Linked DNA regions of Homo sapiens: all the other regions are linked to region 1. The links are contacts of gene promoters, found by promoter capture Hi-C in human tissues and cell types (Jung and others, 2019). All regions are on one chromosome and are shown on one strand. Each heading gives the region's core, a stretch centred on a gene start or on the middle of the fragment in contact. The rest is flanking DNA. Distances are from core to core; before and after follow the strand shown.

Region 1 (4,116 bases), core at 1,174-3,673:
GACGGGAGCGCGTTTGCGCGTTTATTTGGGCATAGGGACGAGGGCAAGGAGCCCCTGCTACCCCCAGTCGCCTCCTCGCCATCAGCTGCGTACAATGGGCCACCGCTCGCGGAGTGCATTGACAGTTCTCCATTATTCGAGCTGGAGGGGCTGTGGGGCAGGCACGGGAAAACCTTTTATTCTGCTCTTTAAAATCATCGCTCGTCACTAAGCGGTCGCCGACTCCCGACTTGTAGGCTGGAGAGACCAGGAAGCGCAAAACGTCCCCCAAACACGCAGTGCTTCCCAAACCCCTCCCTGGTGAGACTTAAAGTGAGAACGAGTATTAAAAAACAAACCCTACCTCTGTCAATACAGCGTGGCCATTTACTTCCACCTTTACCTGAGGGCGTGTTGGCGCTAGGAATGCTCGAGCTGAGACAAACTTTTACGCCCTCGCGAGTCGAGGGGCGGGCGGGCGAGCGCGGCTCCCACCCCCGGCGGCGGCAGCGGCGGCTTTGTCACTCCGCGCGGCTCCGCGCCCGCCTGAGCCTGCCTAGGGGAGCGATCTCAAAACGAGGGGGGTGCGAGTATGCGATTGGAGAATATGTAACTAATAGAAGTATCATTTTCCCCCAGTACGATCTTTCAAGGAAAAAAAAATCCATTGAAAGAATTTTCAAAGTGCTGTCTTCGTTTGGAGAAAAGGCACAGGCTGCCTGCGGGGAGGGGAGGAGGGACTCGGCTGTGTGCCGCCCGGGAGCGGCTCCCGTCCGCTAGGTGGCAGCCGGAGCCAGCGATTCCTGCAAGCCCCGCCGCGGGACCCGCTCCTCCCGCCTGCCCCTCCTCCCGCGACCAATCACCTTCAGGATTCAGGAATCGGGGTCTCGGTCTCTCTCTCTCTCTCTCTCTCTCTCTCTCTCTCTCTCTCTCTCTCTCTCTCTCTCTCTCTCTCTCCCCCTCTCCCTCTCCCTCTCCCTCTCCTCTCTCCCTCTCCCTCTCCCTCTCCCTCTCCCTCTCCCTCTCCCTCTCCCTCTCGTCTCTCTCTCTCTCTCTCTCCTCTCTCTCTCTCTCTCCTCTCTCTCTCTCTCCTCTCTCCTCTCTCTCTCGGTCTCTCTCTCTCTCTCTGGGTCTCTCTCTCTCTCTCTCTCTCTGGGTCTCTCTCTCTCTCCTCTCTCTCTGGGTCTCTCTCTCTCTCCTCTCTCTCTCTCTCCCCTCTCCTCTCTTCTCTCTCTCTCTCTCTCAATATCTCGCGCGCTCTCCTCTCTCCTCTCTTTCCTTTCCTCTCCTCTCTCTCTGTCTCTCTCTCTCCTCCTCCCCCTTTTCTCTCTCCCTCTCCGCCTCCCCCCCTCTCCATCTTCTCGTTTGTTTGCTCTTTTCCCGGGACTGACTTGGCCACACTAATCTCCCCCCACCCTGCAACAATATGGGGACTTACTACTGTTTTATTAATAATGATTGAAGCATTGTTGGAGTTTGGAACAGCCAGGTGATAAAAAAAAAAAAAAAGAAGAAGGAAAAATTGGATTGATTGGAAAGTTTATTTTTAAAATCATCTTTGGGATAAATAGGAACCCTTGATTCCGATCGAATTTGTGGCAATAGCTGCAAATTCCAGGAGTGTGCTTTGTCATCATTAAACCTTTTAAACCAAGGTATACTTTGGATTAAAAAATAGGGAGATCCTACCCTGTTTCTACTTGTTTCTAAAAAGGATATAAAATGAGCAGAATCCAGACTTGGATTGTGCTTATATGTGAGAGAAGAAAACAATCCAAATCCAGTATATTTCACAAATCATTAAAATGGTGGGGGTTTCATTCCCATTAAAAATTTTTCCAAACATTTTCAATGACACTCTCTTCACGCTCATAAAATCTAATTTTAAAAACTTTTCAGAAGAAATCAAAATAATTTCCCTCTAATTCTCCTTTTGCCCATCGCTAGGCGTTCTCCCCCTCGTCATCCCTTCCCCCTCTGGGGTGTGAGCGTAAGTGTGTGTGTGTGTATGTGTGTGTGTGTGTGACCATAGACGACCCATACTAATCAGGTCTCAGAGTAAATAGCAGCGCAGGGCGATCTCAATGTAAATTGCGCTTGTCAGAAACACACCCCCCTCCCTCACTTTCTCTCCTCCTCCCCACACCATCCCAGTCTGTAGGTAGCTAAGCGGGGGGGGGAGAAAGAAAGCAAAAGAGGAGGGGGGAGGGGCTCTCCAACCAATGGCGTGCAGGAGGCTTGGCTAACCTTAGCCTCCCATTTTCTCTCCCCCCGATTCAGGGCTCTGACCAGTCAGTCGCCTTTGATTATCAGTTGCCAGCAGCCCTTCTCTTGGCTCCTTGACACGAGCTCCATATAAGGCAGCGATCTCCATAGAAACGTGTCAGTTTCAATAGTAGTGTCAAAGTTCACTATATACAGACATTCGCGCAGATCCCCCTTTCGGAAACATTGCTCTGCGAGTCCTCCCGTTTAAACGCATTCAATTTTTGGGTCTCTCTCTCTCTCTCTCTCTCTCTTCTTCTCTTCTCTCTCTCTCTCTCTCTCCTCTCTCTCTCTCCTCTTTCTCCCCCCTCTCTCCCTCCTCTCCTCTCTCTCTCCTCTCTTCTCTGAACCTCTCTTCTCTTTCTCTTTTCTTACATATTCTACTAGTTGTTTTCCCCTTCTTCTTCTCCTTTCTCTCCTTTTTCTCCCTCCTCCTTGTCTCTTTTACTCCATTCCTGCAGAAGAGAGAGGGCTAAACTTAAAGAAAAAAAAAAGGAGGAGGAGGAGGAGGAGGCACCCCCTTCGTATTCTTCTTATCGTTATTTTATACATATATGATTTTTTTTGGAGGGAGGGTGTTGGTTGCCGGCTGAAGAGCACTTATTTAAAATACTAAAAAAAGAACATTTTTGGGCGATCTCCAGGGTTTTTTTAACTAGCTCTGTGTGTTATAGCAGAAGAAGCAGAAGAAGGAGCAAGAAAGAGGAAAAGAAGAGGATTATTTATTCGACCTACTTTGGATGTCTCTCTCGCTTTTCCTTTTTCCTTTTTTTGGCAATTATTTTCTTCTGATTTTTATTTTTTCTATTTCGCTGTGATTTCGTCGCCGGCGTGAATTATCCCGTATTTTTCTCCCCCTTCCGTCACCTCCCGAAAGAAGAAGGCAGCGAGAGCCCGGCGCCACCGGCACAACAAAAAGAGCAAAGTGTGTGATCTTCCTCGCCGGCTGCCTCCCGCTCTCCAGCGCTGCCTTCCTGAATGGCTGGCTGCGTCCGGCCCTGGACCTGGCCCCCCGACACCCGCGCGCCCTGATCGCCGGCGGCAGCCTCGCCCAGCGCCCTGCTCGGCTCACCGCGCTCCCCGCACTCCCGAGCCCGGCGAGGGCTCCCGCCGGGACAGCGGCGGCGCCGCGGGCGGCCCCGGCCTCCGCTCGCGCTCCGGCTGCGGCCCCGACTCCTGCTCGGACTCCGGCCCGGGTCCCGGCTCCTCCAGCGGCGCTCGCCGCAGCAGCTCCGGCGGCAGCTCCAGCGGCGCCTGCAGCCGCGACCTCCTCCTCCTCCGCCGCCGCCGCCGCCTCCGCCCTCGCCGGCTTCCTCTATGTCGGCTCAGCCCGCGCGCTGCGCGTAGCCCGAGCGGCCGGCGGGCGGGCGCCCGGCGCGGGTGAGCGACTGTGTGTGCGAGTGTGTGTGTGCGCGGGGGTGCGGGCGAGGCGGAGGGCGAGTGTGTGCGCGCGCCGTGGCCCATGCCCGCCGCCCCCGGCGCTGCGCCCCGCGCCGCTCCCGGCTGCCGCCTGTGCCATTTCTGATTTTGCAACTTGGGGAAGAAGAAAAAAGCGAGAGAAGGGAGCTTGCTCGCCGGGGGGTGGGGAGGGGGGAAGGAGAGCGCGGCCCCCCCAGGAACGGAGCGCGGGGGGAGCGGGCGAGGGGAGCAGGGGTGTTGGGGGGGGAGCCTGAGAGCCTGGGGGGGCTGCAAAAAGAGAGAAAGAAAACAGCAGGAACCACAACAAAACGCCAGCAGGGCGGGCGGGCGCGCAGCAGCAGCGGGGCGGCCGAGGCAGTAGCGGCGGCAGCGGCGGCGGCGGCGGAGGCAGCGGCCGGTGTCCGGCTCGGGCTCGGCTCCTGCGACCCCGGGGCGCCCGGCGGGCCCCCCGCC
Region 2 (4,078 bases), core at 1,304-3,803, 1.0 Mb before region 1:
ATAGTACTTACAGACATGAGAATTCCAGACCCAGCCAGAAAAGAAGAAATCATCTGACTCCCCAAAAAGGCTCTAAATTAGGAATAAGAACCACACTCATAGTAATATCACGTTACACTAGATTAGCCCTGACAAAGCCCAAATCTAAGCCTTAACAAAATCATCAAGGGAGAGAGAATTTGGAAGTAGAACTCCACCAAGAGAGGAACCTGGAAAAACATTGGGCTTTCTACAGATCCACACTAATTTGGATCTCTGTGCAAGATGTCAATCAGAAAACAAACAACAAAGCAAAACTCTTTGAAGACATCATCCCACGTATCACCCCAAAGGTTCAACATACAATCTGAAAGTATTCAACATCTAAGTAAATAGGAAAATGTAACCTCTAGTTAAAAAGTTTAACAGAAAGTAACCCAAGGTAGTTTAGATACTAGATTTCACAGATAATTACTTCGAAGCAGCTATTTCATACACACACGCACACACACACACACAGAGCTACGATAGATCGATAGATAGATAGATACATACATACATACATAGATATACACACAGTATATAAAGAAAAATATGGTATTAATGACTGAATAAATAAGGAATCTCCTCTGAGAAATCAAAACTATAAAAGAAAAACTAAAAATTCTAGAATGAATTAAAAAGTATAATAACTGAAGTGGAGGGGAAAACTTACTTGCTTTTCATAACAGAAGATTAGATATGGCAAAGAAAATAGGATCAGTGAATTCAAAGGCAGAGCTATACAATTATACAATTTTGATTATAGAGGCTTTATAGCATGTTTTAATATATTGTAAGACAGTCTGTCTCACAGCTTCAATTGGATAGTGTTTTCCTAGATAGTCTTACAAGTTTATTTTCCATGTGAATTTTAATATCCTGACTAGCTAAAAAAACTTGATGTTTATAGTAAGATTGAATAAAGATTATAAATTAACTTTAAGATACAGACACACACACCCACAAATTTCCCACGATGAATCTTTGGAACAATATTTCCTGAGTTCATGCATGCTTAAAAATGATTGTCTGTCTAAAATCTTGTTCATAGAGGGACAGCTTGAATAAAAATAAAATTCTTAGTTGACACTGATTTTTTGTTTCTTTCCTTCCCACTCTCCCCTTCCTCCTCTGCTTTCTCTTCTTCCTCCTCCTTCTCCTCTGCTTCCTCTATACTGATTTATCCTTATTTTGATTTGTGTTTCAATGCTGATTCATTTTTATATTGATTTGTATGCTGCTTTTGAATAGAATGGTGCTGCCAGTCTGATTTTTGGTCCTTGTAAATTATTTGCTTCTTTGTATGGAGGCCCTGAGGATTTTCTACTTCATCTTTAAAATCTAAAAAATGTACTAGAGTGTAGCCCAGAATTGATAACTGTGTGACTGTGTTCTCAGGAAATATCTGGGCCTTTTCAATATGTAATGTCCTATCTTTAATTCCCTGAAAGTTTTCTTGGATTATGGTTTAAATATTAAATTAGTTACTTTTTTTTTCTTCTTTAGGGTCTTCCTTTCATTTTGGTGCCTTCTTTATTCTTCATCTCATTGTCATTCTATCTGTTGTTTCTCCTCTTTTCCTCTAAGCATCTTACTAACTTCTTGTTTGTATTTCTTCATCCTTGGGCCCCATGTAATTTAGCTTTCATTTCCTATATTATTTTTCTGTTTTTTTTTCTCCCGAGTCCATTAATAATATTTTATTTCTTTCAGTTTTGTTGTTGTTGTTTTGGATTTTTTTTTCTCTTCTTAGTATTTGAATTTCTGAATCAAGGTGTTTTATTTTTTTCTGTAACCCAAATCATGCTTGCTGGATTAGAAACTTTAATTATTTACAACATTGGTTCTTACCTGTAGAGAATGTCACACCAACTTCATCAAGTACCCAGCTGCCTTAGCATTGAGCAGCAGAAGCAGTAACTCCTAGGTTATGAATATTCTCTGACAACATTAATTAGACCCATGAGGATGGAAGCCCTATGTGCACAACTTTCAGAACAAAGCTAAAGCTAAAGAAAATCTCCATTCATGTCTAAGAGAATCTCCATTCATGAACTAAGTTGTATCCTCCCCACATTCATGTTTCATCCCTAATCCCCAATGTGTCTATATTTGGATATAGGGCTTTTAGGAGGTAATTAAGGTTAAATGCAATCATAGGAGTGGGATCCTAGTTCAATAGGCTCAGCGGTCTTATAAGAAGAGGAATTAAATGCAGTCATAAGGATGGGATCTTAATTCAATAGGCTTAGTGGTCTTATAAGAAGAGAAAGAGTGCTCTGTGTGTGTGTGCGCGTGTGTGTGTGTCTGTGTGTATATTCATTTAAGCATACAGCAAGCCAAGAAGAGGGCCTTCACCAGGAACCAAACTGGATGGTACCTTGATCTTGGACTTTTCAGCCTCCAGATCTATGAGAAACAAATTTCTGGTGTTTAAGCCACCCAGCCTACAGTATTTTGTTATGGCAGTCAAAGCTGACTAATGCAATGGCCTCATTGAATCAAATTAACCATTCTGGAATATCCTGATCCAGGTGTATAGTAGATATCTCCTTTACATATAGTTCTGTCTCTCTCCTAGAGAATAATCCCCTAGATTATGAACATTGTTTCATTTGGATCACTCAGCATATGCCTTTTATTAATTATAAGAAATTCATATTGATAGTAACAAATCAAATGCAATTCAAAAGAGAATGAATACAAACTTGATTCTTCTTTACTATCCCTTTCCTCCATGCCACCCTCTTGAGACACTGAAAGAAACTGAACTTTTCTATTATTGAAAGGAACTGAATCTGTAAATCAATTTCTTCACTTTCCCTTTTCTTATTTTAACTGTTTGGATTATTTCTCTCTTACTGAACATTTGTTCACATTCAAAATTATTGGCTAGAGTTCTATGCACAACAATTGTATAAAATATTCTCCTCAGTTCAGCATACCACTAGGATGAATTTCACTTAAATCATTTAAAACATTTTAAAACCATTTTTTCAATGGACTTTAATATTAAAAATTTCCTGGGCTGAGAAATGTTCACTTATTCTAGCCCTGTTTTAACTCTTTGCATCTGTTCTGCACTGTCATAAATAACCAATAATTTTTCAATTTAATGACATCGGTTTTGATCCAGTTCTCAAAACTGTATTTGTACATGGTTTTATAAAATGTCTGCTAGCAAAAGTTTCCTTTACTTTAAACAAAAGAAGTCAAAAATAAAATAAATGTTGATCATCATATATTTTAGCATACAAATTAAACTTCAGAAAAAATGGTAAACAAATATAATTTTATTTGGAACTGGTTTTGTTAAATTCTTGATTGATACAAATTTTAATTTTGAAATGTCATTTGAAACCATATGCTTTTGTATCTTAGAAATGAAATATACTTTCAAAAGTCCTTTGTCTAGCCCTCTGCCTTAAAACTGATAAAAATGTTACCATCAAAGCAACTTAAATAAAGTGAATTGATTTGCTCTAACTAACAAGTATTTAAAAAGCCAGGTTTTCTAACTTCACATACCACATGTTGTAGCAATGCCTCATAATTGTAACTGTCATTGGATACCAACAAATTCTATTCACATTCAGTCCTAAAATCCAATATTTACAGAAAACCAGCCCTTTACTAACGTCACCTTATGCTTCGAACTAAACAATCCTGTTAAAACGGTTATTGTGACAGTAGACTATTTATTATTTATTAATAAAAATAAATTTATATTCTTTCTGAAAAGACTATATTTATAAAATTTATTAGAATTTATAAAATTATATACACTATACATGTATGTGGATATAACACTCACACATGCTGAGCTTCAATGAATGTATGTGATGTGTTGGAAAATCAATACAATCAATTGATTGTATCAATTTAAACTGGTAAATGTATTGCCTTATCTAAGTGTTCTTGTCCTAAAGATCACATAAATTAACACTATTTATCCTTAGTGGACTTGGTGTCTAAGGGCTACAATTAGTGACTCACATAGTCTTTATATCTAGGTCATTAGTTCAAATCCAGTTTAGAATGTTACTTCTTGAATTGA
Region 3 (3,824 bases), core at 1,291-3,790, 1.1 Mb before region 1:
TGGTTTCAATGTGACGATACCTAAAATAGATTTTTCTCTCATTTCCAATGAGCTTGTTCACTCTCTTATCTACACACTCTTGTGATCAAGCCTTAGTTTGTTACCCAACCAAATAAACAATTATCTAACAACTGCTTATTTCAGATCACTTGTTCACATTCTTCCCCAACAGCTATTCTTTTGACTTCCTTGGAACCCTGAGTGCAACAATCCTCAACTTTCTTCTTGTTTGTAAATACACATTTTTATTTTAAAATCGTATCCCAAACTTCATGATTTAAGTTTTTTTAAATTAATATCCTAAATTCTCGTGCTCATATGTTTGCACCATAACTATTTGGAGAAATCCCATTCCAGGAATAACCCAAAATATTTCCCATACTTCTGCTTTGAAGAAAATAACATCACTTGGAATACTGTTACTACACCCATAAATTCAGTTACCAAATTTTATAGGCCCTTCAACTCTGTTTCCCTAGTCAAAGAAAATACTTCAGATACTTACTTTATCCACTGTTCTTCTCAGTGGACCTATTTCATAATAAAAAAATTAAAATATGCCTATTCTTAAAGTCTATGTCACAAATTTTTCCAATATTTGTTCCTGGAAAAAATAGTTATTCATCCACATATTATAACGCAATCTGTCAACTATGTTTTGGATCTCAAAACCTGCCCACTCTCTGTAATCTCACTTTCCCCCACTGTTCATATGACACCAAGTTATTCCTCCAATTGTGTTATTTCCCATGTTAAATATCTACAGTGTCTCTGTAAACTACCCCAAACTGAATAGTTTAAAACAACAACGGACTGACTTCTGGTTTAACAACATGAGAGCTCTCCTGACCCACTTCTCAATAAAACTGATGGAAATTATGCAGACAATGCAATTGTATGAAGCTTCTGGAAATAGTCCTAAAGGCAACAGCAAATAAATATCTAGTGAAAAAAAATCTACAAAAATTCAGTGAGAGAGATAACAGTCCACAGTATTTGAATGAAGATTGTTGCAGATTAGAACACAGGACTTACTCTAACATCAGCTCCCAGTATAGGGCTCTCTTCCTAGGAGGATAAAGGATTCTCAGTTTCATTCTGTCCTCAGCTGCCTATTGTTGCGGCTGAGTGTGGTCACAGGTGGGGACTTCCTCCTAGTGCCCACCCACCATTTATGAAAGGTAGGTTCTAAGCAGGTGCAGTATGCTAAGAATAATGGGGTTCTGACAGCTCTTCTTCCTGTTCATAAGCATGTGTTTCCAAGTTAGGAAATGCAAGCAAAGACGACATCATTACTATTTCCTCCCCTTCCACCAGGTGCTCAGCTCCCAGAGTTGATGTGTCACTCAGAAAAAAGCTTGCCTTTGTCTCCACCCCTAGCTTCAGAGCTTGGGCTCAGAGATTTTGCCTGGGGGAGAAGCATAACAAAAAAACAATAGCTCCTAATCTGTCCCCAAATTAACTGACTTTATTTGCAACAAAGTATGGAGAAGTTTTAACCTAAAGCTACTCTAAAAAATATTGGACATTGTGGTGAAAGGCAATTTGAAGATTCATGGATCTAATAAAGATATAGCCTGGAATGTAAGGTGGTAATTTGCAGAAAATAACCCAAGGATAAGACAGCTGGGAGGAGCACTCCTGGGGCCAGAACAAATATGAAACACTAACCTCAGAAAGTAGTCACTCAAAGGGACCACAATTTGATTGGATTGGTTTGATTGAATTAATGGAGGCATTTAAGCCTCGGGATATTGATGAAAACAATAGAGCAATCAGTAGGTGCTACTAGTGGAGTTTAATAGCTGGATGTGGTCAGAAAAGAGTGGAAGAGCACCCTACCAATACAACTGACATCCCAAGATAACTGTGGGCATGCCCAAAACTATACTTCCCTGAGTCACAGCATCAAAGGTTTACCACAGTTAAGGAGACGGGGTAGACTTCAGTAAAACAATTCATCCAGTCATTAAACATACAAGCAAAGAAACACTGGAACAGGAGGACCAGTACTCAGAGTTGCTATAATATAGTGTCTAAAAGGACCAATTTCAATAAAAAATTATGAAACCTTCAAAGAAATGGAGAAACATGACTCATACGCTGGGATAAACAGCAGGAAACAGAAACTGCCTGGAATAATACACAGATGTCATATTTAACAGTAAAAAACAAAAACTAGTGGAAATAATTAAAGAAGTAAAGGAAGGTATGTTGGAATGTTATACCAAATAAAAAAATCGACAAAAAAGTAGAAATTAATAAAAAGAACTAAATGAAAATACCAAAGTTAAAAAGTATAATAATCGAAATACAAAATTTACTTGGGGGGCTCCTCAGAGAATTGAACAGGCAAAATAAAAACTAGCAAACAAAGATAAATGGATATAGATTATGGAACTTGAAAAAGAAAAAGAAAAAAAAGCATGGAGAAAAATGAATACAGCCTCAGAGAAATGTGAGGCATTATTAATCACACAAACATACATGTACGAAGCGTACATGGAGAGGAGACAGAAGAAAAAGAATATTCAAAAAAATTACTGAAACTACTCGAAGTTATTGAAAAACAATAACCTAGGCATCCAGGAAGCTCAGTGAACTCCAGGTAGTATAAACACAAAGTAACCCATGAACAAATCATATTAAAAAGAATGAAACTCTCTGACAAGGACTACATTTGAAAGCAACAAGGGAAATATGTCCCTTCACTTACAAGAAAACTCCAAAAAGATTAACACACCTGACTTATTGGCAGAAATAACAGAAACCAGAGACATTGGGATGATATATTTAAAATGCTCAAAGAAAGTTTCAACCTGGACTCCTCTATTCAGGAAAGCTTTTGTTCAAAAAGTGAAAGTGAAAGAAAGACCTTTACAGATAAACAAAATCTTAGAGAATGTGTTGCTAGCAGACCAGCCATATATGAAATACTTAAGGAAGTTCTTCAGTATGAAAGCAAGTTACACCAGATGGAATTTTCAGTCCAACTTGAAAAAATAAAGAATATTGTAGAAAAATCATGTAATTATTTAAAAAGTGGCATATTTTCCTCCTTTCTTCTCATACCTGATTTTAAAAGCAGTGGTATAAAATGATATGTATATAATGCAACATAACATTGAGCCTATTGCATATAGAAATATAACATGTGTGCTATATTTGTCAATAACAGCACAAATAAGGTGGAAGGGAGTAAAGTTTTAATGGCCTAAAATTACAAAAGAGGTAAAATAATACTTAAAATAATGTATTGTTAAGTTTGTAACATTAACAGGTGCAATATGTGTAAAAAGGATACTACAAAAAGTGAGGCAGGGAATAGAGCTGTATAGGAGTAACAATTCTGTATCTCACTAGAATCAAACTGAGATAAATCTAAAGCTAATTTGGATAAATTTCAATGTATATGGTAAACCCTAGAGCAAGTGCTAAAAGCATATAAACCATAAAAAAATTTAAAAAAATTAAATGCTACTTAAAGAATGTTTACTTAATGCAAAAGAAAGCTATAAAAGAGAAATAAAAGAACAAAAAGGACCCTGGAGCATATAGAAAACAAAGAGTAATTGGCATAAGTCCAGTTATATCTATAACATTAAATGTGAAAATATTAAACAATGTAATGAAGAGGCAGAGCTTTTCAAGTTGGATAAAAAAAATTCAATTATATACTATCTAAAGGTGACAGACTTTTGATTGAGAATAGACCTAAAATAAAAATATGGAAAATATATATTATGCAAAGAGCAAACACTTACAAAAGGTAAAAATGTAAATATTTATGTTATATATATTTTACCACAATTAAAAATACTAGA
Region 4 (3,733 bases), core at 27-2,526, 1.1 Mb after region 1:
TACCTGAGAGCACAATATATAATTCATGTAAATTCAAGTATTTATATAGAATAAAATTTAAAAATACACAAATGAAGTCTATTTTGATTAACTTGTAAAACAATAAAACAGGAAGGACTTTGAACTTGGAGCAATAAAAAGTACCTCAAGAAAGCACATATGGTATGGTGGCTGTCAAGTACAACTTTTCAAATAGCAGTAGCAGCCACAAAAAGGACATTATTAGTTCTGCTCTAGAAGAGCTAATGTTCAGTTATGTTCACTTTCATATTGTGTTTTATAAAGCAGTCTATTTGGTTAATTTATCAAATTATTAAGTTGATAATTATTAGTCTAAACTAAAAGTTTTATGTATAACTAAGAAGAAATTCAAAATAAATTGTTTTTACCATATCTGTCAAGTATTTTTGAAAGGTAATTCTAGGAATAATTTGGAACATTTTTTTTTTTTTTTTTTGAGACAGAGTCTTGCTGTTTCGCCCAGGCTGGACTGCAGTGGCACTATCTCGGCTCACTGCAAGCTCTGCCTCCTGGGTTCACGCCATTCTCCTGCCTCAGCCTCCCGAGTAGCTGGGACTACAGGAGCCCGCCATTGCGCCTGGCTAATTTTTTGTATTTTCTTAGTAGAGACGGGGTTTCACCATGTTAACCAGGATGGTCTCCATCTCCTGACCTCGTGATCCGCCCGCCTCGGCCTCCCAAAGTGCTGGGATTACATAGTTCCTTAAGAAATTGTATATGGCAAGATTTGCTAGAACTTTCCAAACTTAAAATATTTTTGCATTTTTTTCTGACTTTTCCAGTGTATATTTATATTTATGTGACTTAGAAGACTACTTTTTGTAATTTACTATATGTGCATGTTTTAATGAGAAGCTTTTTTGAGTTGATGTGCCTCTTGTGAAATATACATTGTAAACCACAGTGTATAGCATTTTTACATATAGAAAGGAATGTAGAATGAAGATGGAGTTATTAAAATAATTTAGTTTTGAATAAACATGGCAAAAGAATAAAATAGAAATTTTGTAAGATAAATGGAAATCATTAAAATACATCTACAGTCATGTACACATAATGATGTTTTGGTCAACAACGGACCCCATATATGATAGTATCTTATAGTCCCATAAGATAATAATACCATATTTTTACTGTATCCTTTCTATGTTTAGATACACTAATACTCAGCATTGTGTTGCAGTTGCCTATAGCATTTAATACTGTAACATGTCATAAAGATTTGTAACTTAGGAGCGATAGACCATACCATATAGACTAGGTGTGTAGTAGACTATACCATCTAGGTTTGTGTAGGTAGACTCTGATGTTCGCACAATGACGAAATCAACTAACGATGTACTTCTCAAAACATATCCCCATCGTTAAGCAGTGCATGACTGTATATATGTCTTCTTGAGTTCTTTTTAGGACTCAAATTATGTATGTAAAATTCAAGTAGAAATATCCTTTTTTAAAAATAGCTATTTTGGTATAATGATTAAACAACATGATTTGTAATACTCATTAATCGGAATTCAGCACATAGGTAAACTAAAGCATATATGTTAACGTACTATAAAGCTTTGTGAACTGAAAACAATTATGTTCTGCTTTATCTTACATAATTCAGAGGGTTCTTTACTCTATTTAACCTTGTATGTATATTTTACAAAATCTATGTTCCTGGATGGGTTTTTCTTTTGTGACTTGTGTTGATTGTGTTAAGGCTATATTTAATCCACAGTCTTAACTAAATTATGTTTACAAACACGCAGAAAGAAATGCAAAATCATGAAGATGTTAATGTTGGTTCTATTTTGATTCAACATCACAAAAAAGAAAAATTCAGTGGTTCCAGTAAAGATTTGAAATTTGTTAAAATGAGAAATACCTTTGGAAGCCATACATATGAAAATCAGGTACAACTTTCCAAATTAAAAATAATTTATTTTTAATATATATAGTGTTTATAGAACAGTTTTCTTTAGCTTTTAAAAAATATATAAAAATGAGTTATGTATCCAATAGCTAGATTAAGAAATAGAGCATTACCAGTTTTTAAGACCTGCTGTATTATTTTCTTTTTTCTTTTTTTTTTTTGAGATGGAGTCTTGCTCTGTTACCAGGCTGGAATGCACTGGCACAATCTTAGCTCACTGCAACCTCTGCCTCCTGGGTTCAAGCAATTCTCCTGCCTCAGCCTCCCAAGTAGCTGGGACTACAGGCACACACCACCACGCCTGGCTAATTTTTGTAATTTTTTCAGTAGAGACTGGGTTTCACCATGTTGGCCAGGATGGTCTTGATCTCTTGACCTTGTAATCTGCCCACCTCCGCCTCCCAAAGTACTTGGATTACAGGCGTGAGCCACTGCGCCCAGCCTGCTATATCATTTTCTAATGCATCCCCTTTCTCCCTCTTACCTAGAAGTAATCTTTGTCTTAGAATTTGTGTTAATTATTTTCTTATTTTTCATTATAGTTTTAACAGCTGTGTGTGTATCTCTAACTGATATGGTTTAGCTTTGTCTATTCATGAACATTTTATAGTTTATGTTATTTATAGACTTCTTTTGCTAATGTATATAAAATTTTATTGTTTGACTATGCCACAATTATATCTTTTATCCATTTTACTGTTGATAAGCCTTTGGGCTTCTTTTTATTGGTTTATGTGTTTGATTGTTAAGTTTTTGCAATTATGAACAATTCTGCTATGAATAATATGAACATTATCTTGTATACCTCTTGGGATACATATTTAGTAATTTCTCTAGCTTAGTTGGTATATTCCTAGGAATGGAGTTGCTGGGTCATAAGGAGTGTGCATGTTCAACTATACTAGGCAGTGTCCGACTTTTTTCAAAATATTTTACTAATGTACACCTACTCTGTCAATGGATGAGATTTTCTGTTGTACGTACTTCTTTATTTTTATTTCTATTTTTTGAGATGGAGTTTCACTCTAGTTGCTCAGGCTGGAGTGCAATGGCGCAATCTCAGCTCGCCACAACCTCCGCCTTCCAGGTTCAAGCGATTCACCTGCCTCAGCCTCCCAAGTAGCTGGGATTACAGGCATGTGCCACCACGCCTGGCTAATTTTGTATTTTTAGTGGAAATGGGATTTCTCCATGTTGGTCAGGCTGGTCTCTAACTCCCGACCTCAGGTGATCCGCCCGCCTTGGCCTCCCAAAGTGCAGAGATTACAGGCATGAGCCACCGCGCCCGGCCGTACTTCTTTATTTTTTAATGTGTATGAAAGTATGAAAGTCACTCTTGAGTTTATTTGGATTTTGTAACATATGTCATTGATGTTGAGATTTAATTGTGGTCTAAATACATGTAGAAGGAAATTAAGAAAAAAGATGAAGATATTCAGAGGAGTTATACTTTGAGGAGAAAACGCAAGAAAGGAAAAGAAAGCAATTGCAAGAAAGGCGTTGAACATGAAAAAATAAAAAGTACCTTAAGAAGGCACATATATAATAGAGATCAGGTAAAGTTTGTAAGCTAAGCTATAGCTTTCTTTTTTATTTTTTGGCTGTTCTCTGATATAATCTAGATATATAATGCTACATGTTTTAAGAAAAAATCTTGAGTCAATCTGGTGTAATATTCATAGTTAATATTCCAGTTAACTTTGGTTCACAGTAAATGTACTTGTACATGCATATACAAAGAAATCTGAGTTAATAATCAAGGTATTCAGTGAATTTTGTTTTGCCTGAATG
Region 5 (3,608 bases), core at 697-3,196, 1.1 Mb before region 1:
TCAGCAGAAGCTCATTAGACCAAGAGGGAAGAACTGAAAAACATTGCCTATTTTTCCTGAGAAAGTCTGTCCTGTAAGCTGTGGCATTAGAGCTTTGCTGTTTTTTCCATCACAGTTTTAGAGCAAAGGCCTAATTGCAGAGGTATCATGCTCTAAAACATCACAAACCGAGATAGCAGATTCCTTCATATTTCAGCGAACAAATGAGACCATATATTTTATTAGTTATAGACTCTTTCTACTGGACTTTCGAGGCTGGTGGCACTTCATGGCCATGGTCATTTTGCCTACCATGTGGAGAAAATGAGCCGGAAAAATAAAGTCCAGCACAGACAAGAAAAAATAAGCAGAGCAACCACAGGAATAAATGACAGAACTCTTGTCCTATCTGCTCTATCTCATACCAACCTCCATCTGCAACTTCCCATTTATGGGAGTTACTAAATTTTTACTTCAACTAAATGGGGTTTGGTTTCTGCCACTTGCAGTAAAAGAATTCAGACTAATACAATAATTCATCTTATTTATCTTCTATGGCAAACAACTTAATAGAGTTATAAAGCAAATTTAGTAGAAGATAATTTCCTTTCCTGGGTCATAAGTTTAATTAATACCTTTTTTATTTTTGTTGGATACCATTTTTGAAATCCTTGAACATAAAGTCCTATGCTATTTTTTAGGCTATTACAGCAATGGGGGAAGAAACTCGACAAGGAGCATGGTGACTTCTGCTAAAGTTGTTTCATTAAATCCCACAGGGAAAATGTGTTAAACATAAAGTATATATGTTTGTCCAAGAATAAATTCTTCTTTTCCTACTTAGAGATAAATATCCAAAAGACTAGGGTCCTAAATCCTATATGTTAGTCATAGAAGACAAATTTTTATGATTTTTTGACACATTTGTACTGCTAGACTTCACTAAAGCATATGAAGCACACATGTTACCCTGACAGCAAAGAAATGAAAATTATGCACTATATATATTTTTCAGTGGCATCTTTGTAGACCTTGCCAGTATCTGAACTGTTAGAACATGGTTGAATGTCAATTTTCTGCAGGAATTTTAAAGCAGGTTTATTATAGTGCTGAACATATCTGGTCATAAATTTTACCATGCAGAAAAAGCAAACTTTCTCCAAACATGAAATTTTATAAACACCCATTAATTGTTCAATATAGCATGGCTTTTGAATGCTAGACATTTTATTAATACTGATGTGACTTTTTAGAGGCTTTTCTCCCTAAGAAAAAAAATATAATAGATCCTTTATTTTTAACATTATGAGTTTCAGTGTAGAGTTTTGATAGTGACCTCTTCTGTCTATCAGACTACTTTAAGAAAACACTGTTAAAATAGCATTATAGTGTTTTAAGTGATTTCGAATCTTTTAAAAAGGAATCCGTTCAACGAAAACTGAGTCAGAATTATAATAAATACCGAAAATACCTTCACAGTTCTGTTATTTCATTCCATCCTGCTATCAACACTGCTCTCAGTTTGTCAAGGATGACATTTAAATCACGGGTAATTAAACAGTTCTCAGTTTTAAAATAAATTGGAGAGCCCATTGTTTTGAGGTTATTTACAAAACTTTTAAGATTTTGTATTGCTATTCAGACCTTCATTTTTAACAAATGAATTGATGCTCATATTTTTTTAAAAAGCATGAATACCCAAAAGGAAAGCTCACTTCACCAACATGGGATTTTGGTGAATATATTTTACTTACCTACCTATATACACATACATTCATTCACACACAATTATAAAAATGAGATATTTCTATGACAGAAAGTTGAAAATAAATGTGACACAAATAGAATTGAATTTTAGTTTTATTCATGCAAGTCCAGTAAGGCACCATTCCTCAAAGTGTTAGCACAAATGTCCTTCTAGCTCATCGTTCATCCAAGCTTAAGATATGACTTTTGTCCTCATAGGCCAAAATGAGCTATCACATCAACTTTCCAGGAAGTAGGATGCAGCACTGACCACTAAAAATAAAATGAGAGCCACATCTCTATGTTTTTGGTTTGATTTCCTTTTCTTTTCTTTTCTCTTTGAGACAGGGTCTTGCTCTTTTGCCCAGACTGGAGTGGGGTGGTGTAATCACAGCTCACTGCAGCCTTGAACTCCTGGGCTCAAGTGATCCTCCTGCCCCAGCCTCCCGAGTAGCTGGGACCACAGGCATGCACCACCACATCCAGCTAATTTTTGTAATTTTAGTAGAGATGGGGTTTTCCCATGTTGCCCAGGCTGGTCTCAGACTCCTAGTCTCAAGTGATCCGCCCACCTCGGCCTCCCAAAGTGCCAGAATTACAGGTATGAACCACTGTGCCTGGCCATTATATAATGTTATACATATATAATGTTAAGTGTTAACTAGCCTACATTAAAAACTAACAACTAAAATTATGTTAATATATAATTTCAACGTGTAATCGTTATAAAAAGTTATACATGATATTTTTTATTTTCTTTTTTTCATACCAAGTCTTTGAAATTTGGTATGTATTTTCTACTTTCAGTATATCTCAATTTAACCCCATATCAACTGTTCAACTGTGCCTCCTGGTTGCCACACAGGACACTTTCTTTCCAGGACTGGGAGAAATACAGGGATGTTATCTCTCATCACCTTTAAGCAATATTGTATAGGAAGTCTTAGCTAGTAAGATAGATAAGTAAAGGAAATAAACATTTTAAAGATTAGGAATAAAGAATGAAACAGTCTTTATTCATAGATGACATCATGTATATGTAGAAAATTCCAAAGAATTGACCCAAAAATCCCTCTTGTAACTAATAAGTGAGTATAGCAAGATCACAGGATACAAGGTTAATATACGTAATTAAATTGCTATTGTATATATCAGCAGTGAGCAATTGGAATGTAAAATAAGTGATTTAGTCTTTATCCTGAAGGAAGGGATGAAAGCTTAGTAATGACATGTCTCAGAGTAAAAAATTCTGTTTCAGTCACCAAACGCGGCGGCTCACACTTATAATCCCAGCACTTTGGGAGGCTGATGTGCCACCCAGGCTGGAGTGCAGTGGCAGGCTCATGGCTCACTGCAGCCTCAATCCCTCAATTGAGCTATGCACCTGCCACTGCATTTCAGCCTGGATGACAAAGGAAGACCCTGTCTCAAAAAAAAAAAAATTATTTTAATATTCTCAGGTACATAGTGGGAAAATTTGAATCTTCATATTGTATTCTTATTTAATACATGTTTTAACTCTAATTTGAAATATTAATTTGGTTCCATTGGTTGTTTTTCTGCTTCAGATACAACAAATCTTATGCTGGATCTTCTTTGCTATCTTCTACATCTATTACCTTCTCACTGATTCTGTTTAGTAGTATTATTATTATTAGTGCTACTATTTTATTTTCTTGTGGTTTCTCATTTATTCTCTGTGTATTTCTCACTGTATTTTCATTTGTATTATTCTTTTGTAGGTAACTAATAATTCTGTCATTTCTGAGCTACATTCTGAGATATTCTTTTAGATCAGTTAGTTACATTTTATATCATTTCACTTTGTTCATTTGCTTTCACTTTTAAAATTTCTGATTCACCTGGTTATGTCACATTTGCAA
Region 6 (3,611 bases), core at 907-3,406, 1.3 Mb after region 1:
ACAGTGAGGAAAGAATTTTTTTTTAATTTAAAAAATTAACAAATTCTTCAGTACACCACACTTTATTTCAATATTGGCAGGTTTCAATGTGTTTTGCTACAAAGACACATATATAACTATCAAAAAATATAAACATAGGCTTTAAATTAAGAAAACATATGATTCAAGTAGTCACTCAAAATAACCTTAACTTTGTGAAAAATGTCATGTAAGCCTCAGAATACTCCTTTCTTTACTGTGCTATCAGATTAACATGGATCTGCCTCACTTACATGCTTCCTACACTAATACTTGGGAACTCTTTACAGATTTATGAACTCCAAGGAGATTACAAGCATTCTCTACCTTGTAGGGCGTTGTAGAAAATAATGCATTTTACGGTGATAGTATGCTTTATGAAAATAAATATTATCTTAGATCACTTTACAGACTATGAATATGGTCTTTGTTCCTTTATGTATCTTATATCAGATGAAATTCCTCTTTCTCAACTCCCATAACTTTGACATCTGGAGAAAATTCATGGATATCAAATTCAGATAGCCTGTGTCCATCAACTGGTCAAAACCGCCACCTACTGGTCAGTTTTTGAATCTATTTTTCAGTTCATCCAAGCATTGCCTTACCATGGTAAAGTCCCTTTCTTCAAAACAGTAAAGATCATTTACAATAACCAGGCTTACAGCAAATATTCTTTTAATAAAAATGCTCTAGGAGTGAACCAAAAATTACAAATTGCACAAACCTGCCAATGAAATCATCCCTTTTCCCAGCATCTTTGTCCCATGCAGTGATATCAATGACTCCTCCTCTTTCTTCATAAAGGTGAAAATCAAATTGTTCCCTCCACTGAGGATTCAACGTTTTTGGCATAATCTGGAAAAAAAAATCATAATTGTCATATTGCTAGCAGCTTTTTAAAAAAAACTTCAACCTGAGACACTAAATCAAACTTTTGGTACTATAGTATCTAGAAAAGCACGCTGTGTGCTATTTGAAAAAAAGATTACAGAAATAATGGAAATAACTCATTAGATCTCCAGCATCTTTACTGAATAGTACATGAATGGACCTCAATGGATGTGTCCTGAAAATCACAAGACATTCTTTGATTATTTTAAATAACAGATAAGATATATAAATTATATAGAAGAGGTAATAATCTATGAAAGAAATAGCTCACTCGGATACTAGCAATATTTTACATAATCATAGTTAATGCATTAAGATATAACTCATAGCCAGTCAGTCATCTCAAAATAAAGGAGAATGAGGATTTTCAGAGTTTGTTTTTTTCTTACTTGCCATACACATTGGAATCCTGACTTGAGTACATGAAAAACAGACAATGAATTTCTGTGAGAGCAGGAGAAAAACGCAAGTAGCTTTTGGGTAGTCAGGCAAACTTTTATCTTAGACTTATAGCACTGATGTAGTATCTCATGTTATAGATGGATAAGCTGAGACCTAGAGTTTAAGTGACACACCTACGGTCAGTATGTTTTAGTATCTAGACACTAACTCAAAGTCTTTGATTAAAGCTTCGGGACTCTTCCCCCAAAACCATATGCCAAAAATGTCTGTGAAATAATAAATGAATATATGAGTATATATGTATGTATACATGTATATATGTATGAGTATATACATATGTATATGCATGTATACATATATGTATGTGTGCATACATATATGTATATATACATATATGTGTATACATATATGTATGTATGTATATATACACATATGTGGATATACTCTTTGTGTTGCATATACAAGAAAGATATCTGAAATGTAATTCTGTAACTTCAAGTATTCAGATAAGTCATCCTGTATGGTAGAATCAATGAGCAAAGTAACCTATATTGATAGGAATGGAATTTTAAAATTCCATTCACCATTGGGTTAAACAACATTTATATTTGTTTCCTTGTTCTTTCTTTTTAGCAGGAAGGCATGCAGTGGCCTTTTCTCTTTTTAATGTATGGCAGACAGATCTTCAGATGTAAAGTTTGAAAGCAATGAAGTATGTTATATGCAAAGGTAATGCAAATGAATCACAATTTTTAAAGTTCATAATCTGAAATTAATCAGCGATAGATCAAGGAAAGAAAGAGCAAAGAGAGACACATGTCCATTGCTGGGTTTCATATTTCATACCTAAAGAGCAGAACTATAAAAATAAGTAATGTTTTTAGCCTAACTAGAACACGGAAATGGTGCTAACTAAGAAAGGAGAAGATAGAAGTGGTCATAGGTACCTATTTTTGGAATCAGTAGCTACTTTAATATATGTTATATATTATAGCTACTTTAATATAAGCCCCATGGCAGAAAAAAAATGGCACTGAATGAAGGCTATGATAATTTAAATGTCTTATAATCAGGCTCAGATGAACTTCTGTGGTATTTTGGGGTGTGGTCTGTCTTTACTTATCTGGCCTTAAACAGACTAAATTTTCAGTTTTCTTTTCTAGGATTGCCTTCCCTATATTATTTCCTTCAGGTCAGAAATAATGCCTTCCCTTTCTATGTGGACACTCCAATCAGCCTGCTAGCAATACTCACTGCCTGCTAATGATGGGCTCTCTGATATTTTTAACTACCTTAAGTACTAGTGAAAACTTCCTGGGCTGGAAGGGACCTAAGCAGGCTGTTTATCAAAAATCTATAGAGATTATGACACTAAGGTGAATAAATGCCCATCAGAATGGAATGTGATCTTTAATACAAGACGGATATGATCAGTTGTCCTAAGCTGTCTATGAATAACATCTGTAAAAACTGACCAATAAAGAGGACATAGTTCATTACAACAGAGATAAGATGATATGGTTTGGCTCTGTGTATCCACCGAAATCTCATGTCATATTGTACTCCCCACATGTTGGAGGAGGGGCCTAGTGGGAGATGATTGAATCATGGGGGCGGACATCCCCCTTGCTGTTCTTATGATAGTGAATGCATTCTCACAACATCTGGTTGTTTAAAAGTGTGTGGCACTTCCCTTTTCACTCTCTCTCGCTCTGCCATAGAAAGACATGCTTGATTCCACTTTGCCTTCTGCCATGATTGTAAGTTTCCTGAGGCCTCCCAGCCATGCTTCCTGTACAGCTTGCAGAACTGGGAGTCAGTTAAACCTCTTTTCTTCATAAGTTACCCAGTCTGAGGTAGTTCTTTATAGAAGTGTGAGAATGAACTAATACATAAGACATGTGCCAAAAATATAGTTATGACTACTAGACCCTTATTCATTATTACTTATATTACTAATATTATTGTTTAATACATTATTACTACTACTATAATTGATACTATACGATATACTTCTTACTACTGTTGTTACTCTTCCTCTTCTGCTATTTTTGTTTGCTGAGTGATTATGGACAAGGCAGTATTCTAAGCCCTTTAAATGCGTAACATATATTCATTTAATCTTAGTAAATTTGTTAGGTAGGCATTATTTTAACTCTCATTTTTACAGATGGGAAAACTAAGATATGGAGAGACAAAGTAACTTGTTCTAATAAATTTTAAAATTTGCTATTTGCATTGGTACAAGTCAGGTTGGATAAAGTGTATAAGAGTAACATACAAAGATTTTTATGGCA
Region 7 (3,591 bases), core at 1,080-3,579, 1.1 Mb before region 1:
ATTACTTTAAGTACATGTGGCTTATTAATACATTGTGGGTCTGACAGCACCCCCCTTTTTTTTTTTGCCTTTTACCTGTGCAGTTACAGCACCTGAGAAACATTAAAAGAGCAAAGGAATGTACCATAGATTTATTACAGTGATCTATCCTTCCTTTGGCATCCCCCTGACCCCACATACTGTTAAATTGTTCTCTCCTTATAAAATAATAAAATTTAAGCTAATCTCTAAATTTATGAATTCTATTTTATCTAGGGCTATACAGTGCATAAACTGAATATTTCTAATCTACTTAAAGTATATATGTCATTTTCAGGACACGTTTTATATGAAATATCATATATATATATATATATAAAATTCACTTTAGCCAGCACAGTTCTTAGCAGTAATAGGTACTGGACTCAAAAAAGACTTATTGTTTGCCTGGCATTTTGATCAAAGTACAAAAGTGTATTGATTTATATTGTACTTATTTTGCAAGTAGTGCTGTGCAAATAGTAACATACCTTATTGTTATAAGAATCCTATGAGTTATGTTCTATTAACTCCACTTTATAGGTTTGGAACTGAGGTTTAGAAGAGTTAAGTAACTTACCCAAGGTCACACTGCTTAAGGAGAAGAATAAGGATTAAAAGTCAGGCTGTCTAGCTCCAGACGCCATGCTCTTAACCATTAAAATATGCGCCACATATATTCCCATACTAGGTGATATATCTCATGTATTATTAACATTATAGTCTCTTCCTTTAACATCTTTAATATTGATGATGGTTACTTGATTTGCATTACAAATTTTAACCATACTGAAAAATAAGGCGAGTTTCCAAAGAAATTAACTAACTTTCACAAGATTACTTTACTAAATGAAACTAGTGTTTTGAAACAAATCCCAGATTTTTCACCTTGCGTTGTATGACCTTCTGAGGTAGCACTGATCGCATTTGCAATTGGCATTCTCTAGGCCCTATGCTGAAGGATTTTGATATTACAGTGCAAATGACACCTAAATCACTTTAGAAACAAAACAATCTCAATAACTAGGCATTCCTTAGGCCAAATGTGTAGGCCAAGCAGTGAAACTAGTGTAGTAAAGCTTTAATTTGATCAGAAAAGCATAAGGTCCTTAAAATGGCACCAATGACTTGTATTTGAGCTTTTATATTTATATAAAAATGGGAAGTAAGGCCTTGGACATTCTCAGGCAGGTGAGCAGAGGAAACTGACTTCTATTTAAACTGTACCCTCAATCAAATGAAGAAAATATATGTTTTTCCTTAATAATGCTTTAAGATGAAAGAATATTTTATCTAATAATGTCATATCGACACCAATATTATTTTGGCCAGTATTGGGACACTATGAGTTTTTTTATTCCTTTACCTTCAAATTTTCTGTCAATATATTTTAGTTACCCTCTCATATACAGCATATGACTGTTGTAGGCAGAATAATGGCTCCAAATATTTCTATATTCTAATCTCCAAAACCTATGAATGTACTACCATACCTGGCAAAACAATATACGGTTGAGATTATGGATCTTGAGATAGGATGATTAATATGTATTATCAGGTTAGGTCCAAGTTAAACACACAATTTCTTAAAAGCAGAGAAACTTTCCTGGCTGTGGCCAGAGAGTGGTATAGAGTGGTAGAAGAAGGATCAGAGAGATGCAACATGAGAAGGACTTAACTCACCATTTTTGACTTTTGAGATGAATGAATGGGCCATAAGCCAAGGAATATTGAAAGCCTCTATAAGCCAGAAAAGGCAAGAAAATAACTTCACCTCTGGAGCCTCCAAAAGAAACAAGGCTGTATGATGAGCCATGCGACTCGTGTTAGCCTTATGACCTGTAGGATTATAAGCTAATAAATTTGTATTGTCTTAAGACACTATGTTTGTGGTAATTCATTATAGCAGTAATGGGAAACCAACATGATTGCTGTTTATTGTGTATTTTATATCTCATCTGAGAAGTTCAATTTTTAAAAATTGGAATATTAAATGTATTCACACATATTGTAGAAACTGATTTGCTCAAATTTATTTTTAGAAAACAGATTCTGATCTTCATCTACCAGTTAAATTATTTGCTTATTTGTTTTTGTAATTTTGTTTTCTTTCCCTGACTTCAGCTAAGTAAGTCTTTATTAGTAATTAAATTAAATTAAATGTACATGGATTAAACTGTCCAGTCAAAAAGCAGAGATTGACAGCATGAAGTTTTTAAATATGATTGAACTATATGATGTCCACAAGCAACTCACTTTCAATCCAAGACACAAACAGGTTGAAACCAAAAGGATGGAAAAAAATGTTGGATGCAAATGGTAGCCATAAGAGAGTTTGAGTGACTATATTAAAATCAGACAAGATATATTTTAACGTAAAACCTGTTACAGGAAACAAAGAAGGACATTATAATTGGCCCTCAAACAACACTGGAGATGGAGGAATTAATCCTTATACAGTTGTAAATTTAAATATAACTTTTGACTCCCCAGTAATTAAACTACTACAGCCTACTGTTGGTAACACTTACTTTATATGTTAACTTATTCTATGTTGCTTTCTTACAATACAGTATGCTAGAGAAAAGAATGTTATAAGAAACTCATAAGAAGGAGAAAATATATTTGCTCTTCATTAAGTTGAAGTGGATCATCATAAATGTCTTCATCCTCACTGTCTTCACATTGGGTAGGCTGAAGAGAAGAAAGAGGAGGGGTTGATCTTGCTGTCTCAGTTGTGACAGAGGCAAAAAAAAATGTGTAAGTGTATCTGTGCAGTTCAAACCTCTGTTGCGTAAGGGTAAAATACATATACTGATAAAAAAGTCAATTCATCAAAAAGATACAAAAGCTGCAAACATATGTACCAAACAAGACCTCAAAATAAATGAAACAAAAATTAATAGAATCGAAGACTGAAACAGACAGTCTACACTAATATTTGGAGACTTGAATACATCACTCTTAATAATGGAAAACTGTAGACAGGAAATCAATAAGAAAATAGAGTACTTGAACAACATGATAAACCAACAAGACATAGCAGACACATATACAGTACTCCAACTAGCAATAGTAGGGCATGATTTTTCCTCAAGTGTACATGTAACACTCTCCAGAAATGACAATACATTAGACCACAAAATGAATCTTAATAAATTTAAAAACACTAAACTCATGGAAAGTATTTTCTTTGATCACAAAATAGCAGTGAAATCAAAAGATATTTTTTTGAAAAGGTACAAAATACTGACAAACATCTAACTAGACCAACAAAACCAGATAGAAGATGATAATAACTAAAATCAGAAATGAAAGTGGTGACATTACTACTGATCTTAGAGAAACAAAAGGAGTTATAATAGAATACTATGAACAACTATATGCCAAAAAGTTAGGTAACCAAGATAAAATACACAGATTCCTAGGAATACACAAATTACCTAAACTAACTCAAGAAAAAGCAGGAAATCTTAACAGATCTAGAACGAGCAAAGTGATTGAATCAGTAATCAAAAAACTCTCAACAAAGAAAAGCCCAGGACCAGATAACTTCTCTGGTACGTTATATCT

What was found. Contacts are between HindIII fragments. The study calls those that stand out against the background at their distance.
Region 2: a fragment that was not itself captured here is called in contact with the fragment with the promoter of NR2F1 in region 1 in 1 of the 25 tissues and cell types used here (IMR-90 fibroblasts).
Region 3: a fragment that was not itself captured here is called in contact with the fragment with the promoter of NR2F1 in region 1 in 1 of the 25 tissues and cell types used here (lymphoblastoid cells).
Region 4: a fragment that was not itself captured here is called in contact with the fragment with the promoter of NR2F1 in region 1 in 1 of the 25 tissues and cell types used here (spleen).
Region 5: a contact is called between a fragment that was not itself captured here and the fragment with the promoter of NR2F1 in region 1, in 1 of the 25 tissues and cell types used here (dorsolateral prefrontal cortex).
Region 6: a fragment that was not itself captured here is called in contact with the fragment with the promoter of NR2F1 in region 1 in 1 of the 25 tissues and cell types used here (H1 embryonic stem cells).
Region 7: a fragment that was not itself captured here is called in contact with the fragment with the promoter of NR2F1 in region 1 in 1 of the 25 tissues and cell types used here (bladder).

What each region holds. Positions count from the first base shown.
Region 1 is chr5:93,580,799-93,584,914 of GRCh38, forward strand. NR2F1 (nuclear receptor subfamily 2 group F member 1) reads left to right here and starts at 2,424. Exons shown (of 3, transcript NM_005654.6): 1 at 2,424-4,116. It overlaps NR2F1-AS1 (NR2F1 regulatory antisense RNA 1), which reads right to left and starts at 421. Exons shown (of 8, transcript NR_186187.1): 1 at 344-421. RefSeq lists an enhancer at 597-696 and silencers at 817-866, 3,474-3,553. The HindIII fragment of the contact is 15,492 bases long and covers 1-4,116 here.
Region 2 is chr5:92,536,606-92,540,683 of GRCh38, forward strand. No RefSeq gene overlaps it. Among named protein-coding and RNA genes, the nearest start is that of LINC02058, 400 kb to the right of the region's middle. The HindIII fragment of the contact is 8,533 bases long and covers 1-4,078 here.
Region 3 is chr5:92,503,248-92,507,071 of GRCh38, forward strand. No RefSeq gene overlaps it. Among named protein-coding and RNA genes, the nearest start is that of LINC02058, 430 kb to the right of the region's middle. The HindIII fragment of the contact is 5,640 bases long and covers 1-3,824 here.
Region 4 is chr5:94,649,924-94,653,656 of GRCh38, forward strand. It overlaps SLF1 (SMC5/6 complex localization factor 1), which reads left to right. Exons shown (of 21, transcript NM_032290.4): 7 at 1,779-1,922; 8 at 3,349-3,498. Among named protein-coding and RNA genes, the nearest start is that of SLF1, 33 kb to the left of the region's middle. The HindIII fragment of the contact is 5,285 bases long and covers 1-3,733 here.
Region 5 is chr5:92,451,363-92,454,970 of GRCh38, forward strand. All of the region lies in intron 3 of LOC105379080 (a long non-coding RNA gene), which reads left to right. Among named protein-coding and RNA genes, the nearest start is that of LINC02058, 490 kb to the right of the region's middle. The HindIII fragment of the contact is 3,748 bases long and covers 73-3,608 here.
Region 6 is chr5:94,908,506-94,912,116 of GRCh38, forward strand. It overlaps MCTP1 (multiple C2 and transmembrane domain containing 1), which reads right to left. Exons shown (of 23, transcript NM_024717.7): 10 at 746-876. Among named protein-coding and RNA genes, the nearest start is that of MCTP1-AS1, 68 kb to the right of the region's middle. The HindIII fragment of the contact is 6,734 bases long and covers 1-3,611 here.
Region 7 is chr5:92,476,788-92,480,378 of GRCh38, forward strand. All of the region lies in intron 3 of LOC105379080 (a long non-coding RNA gene), which reads left to right. Among named protein-coding and RNA genes, the nearest start is that of LINC02058, 460 kb to the right of the region's middle. The HindIII fragment of the contact is 9,659 bases long and covers 1-3,591 here.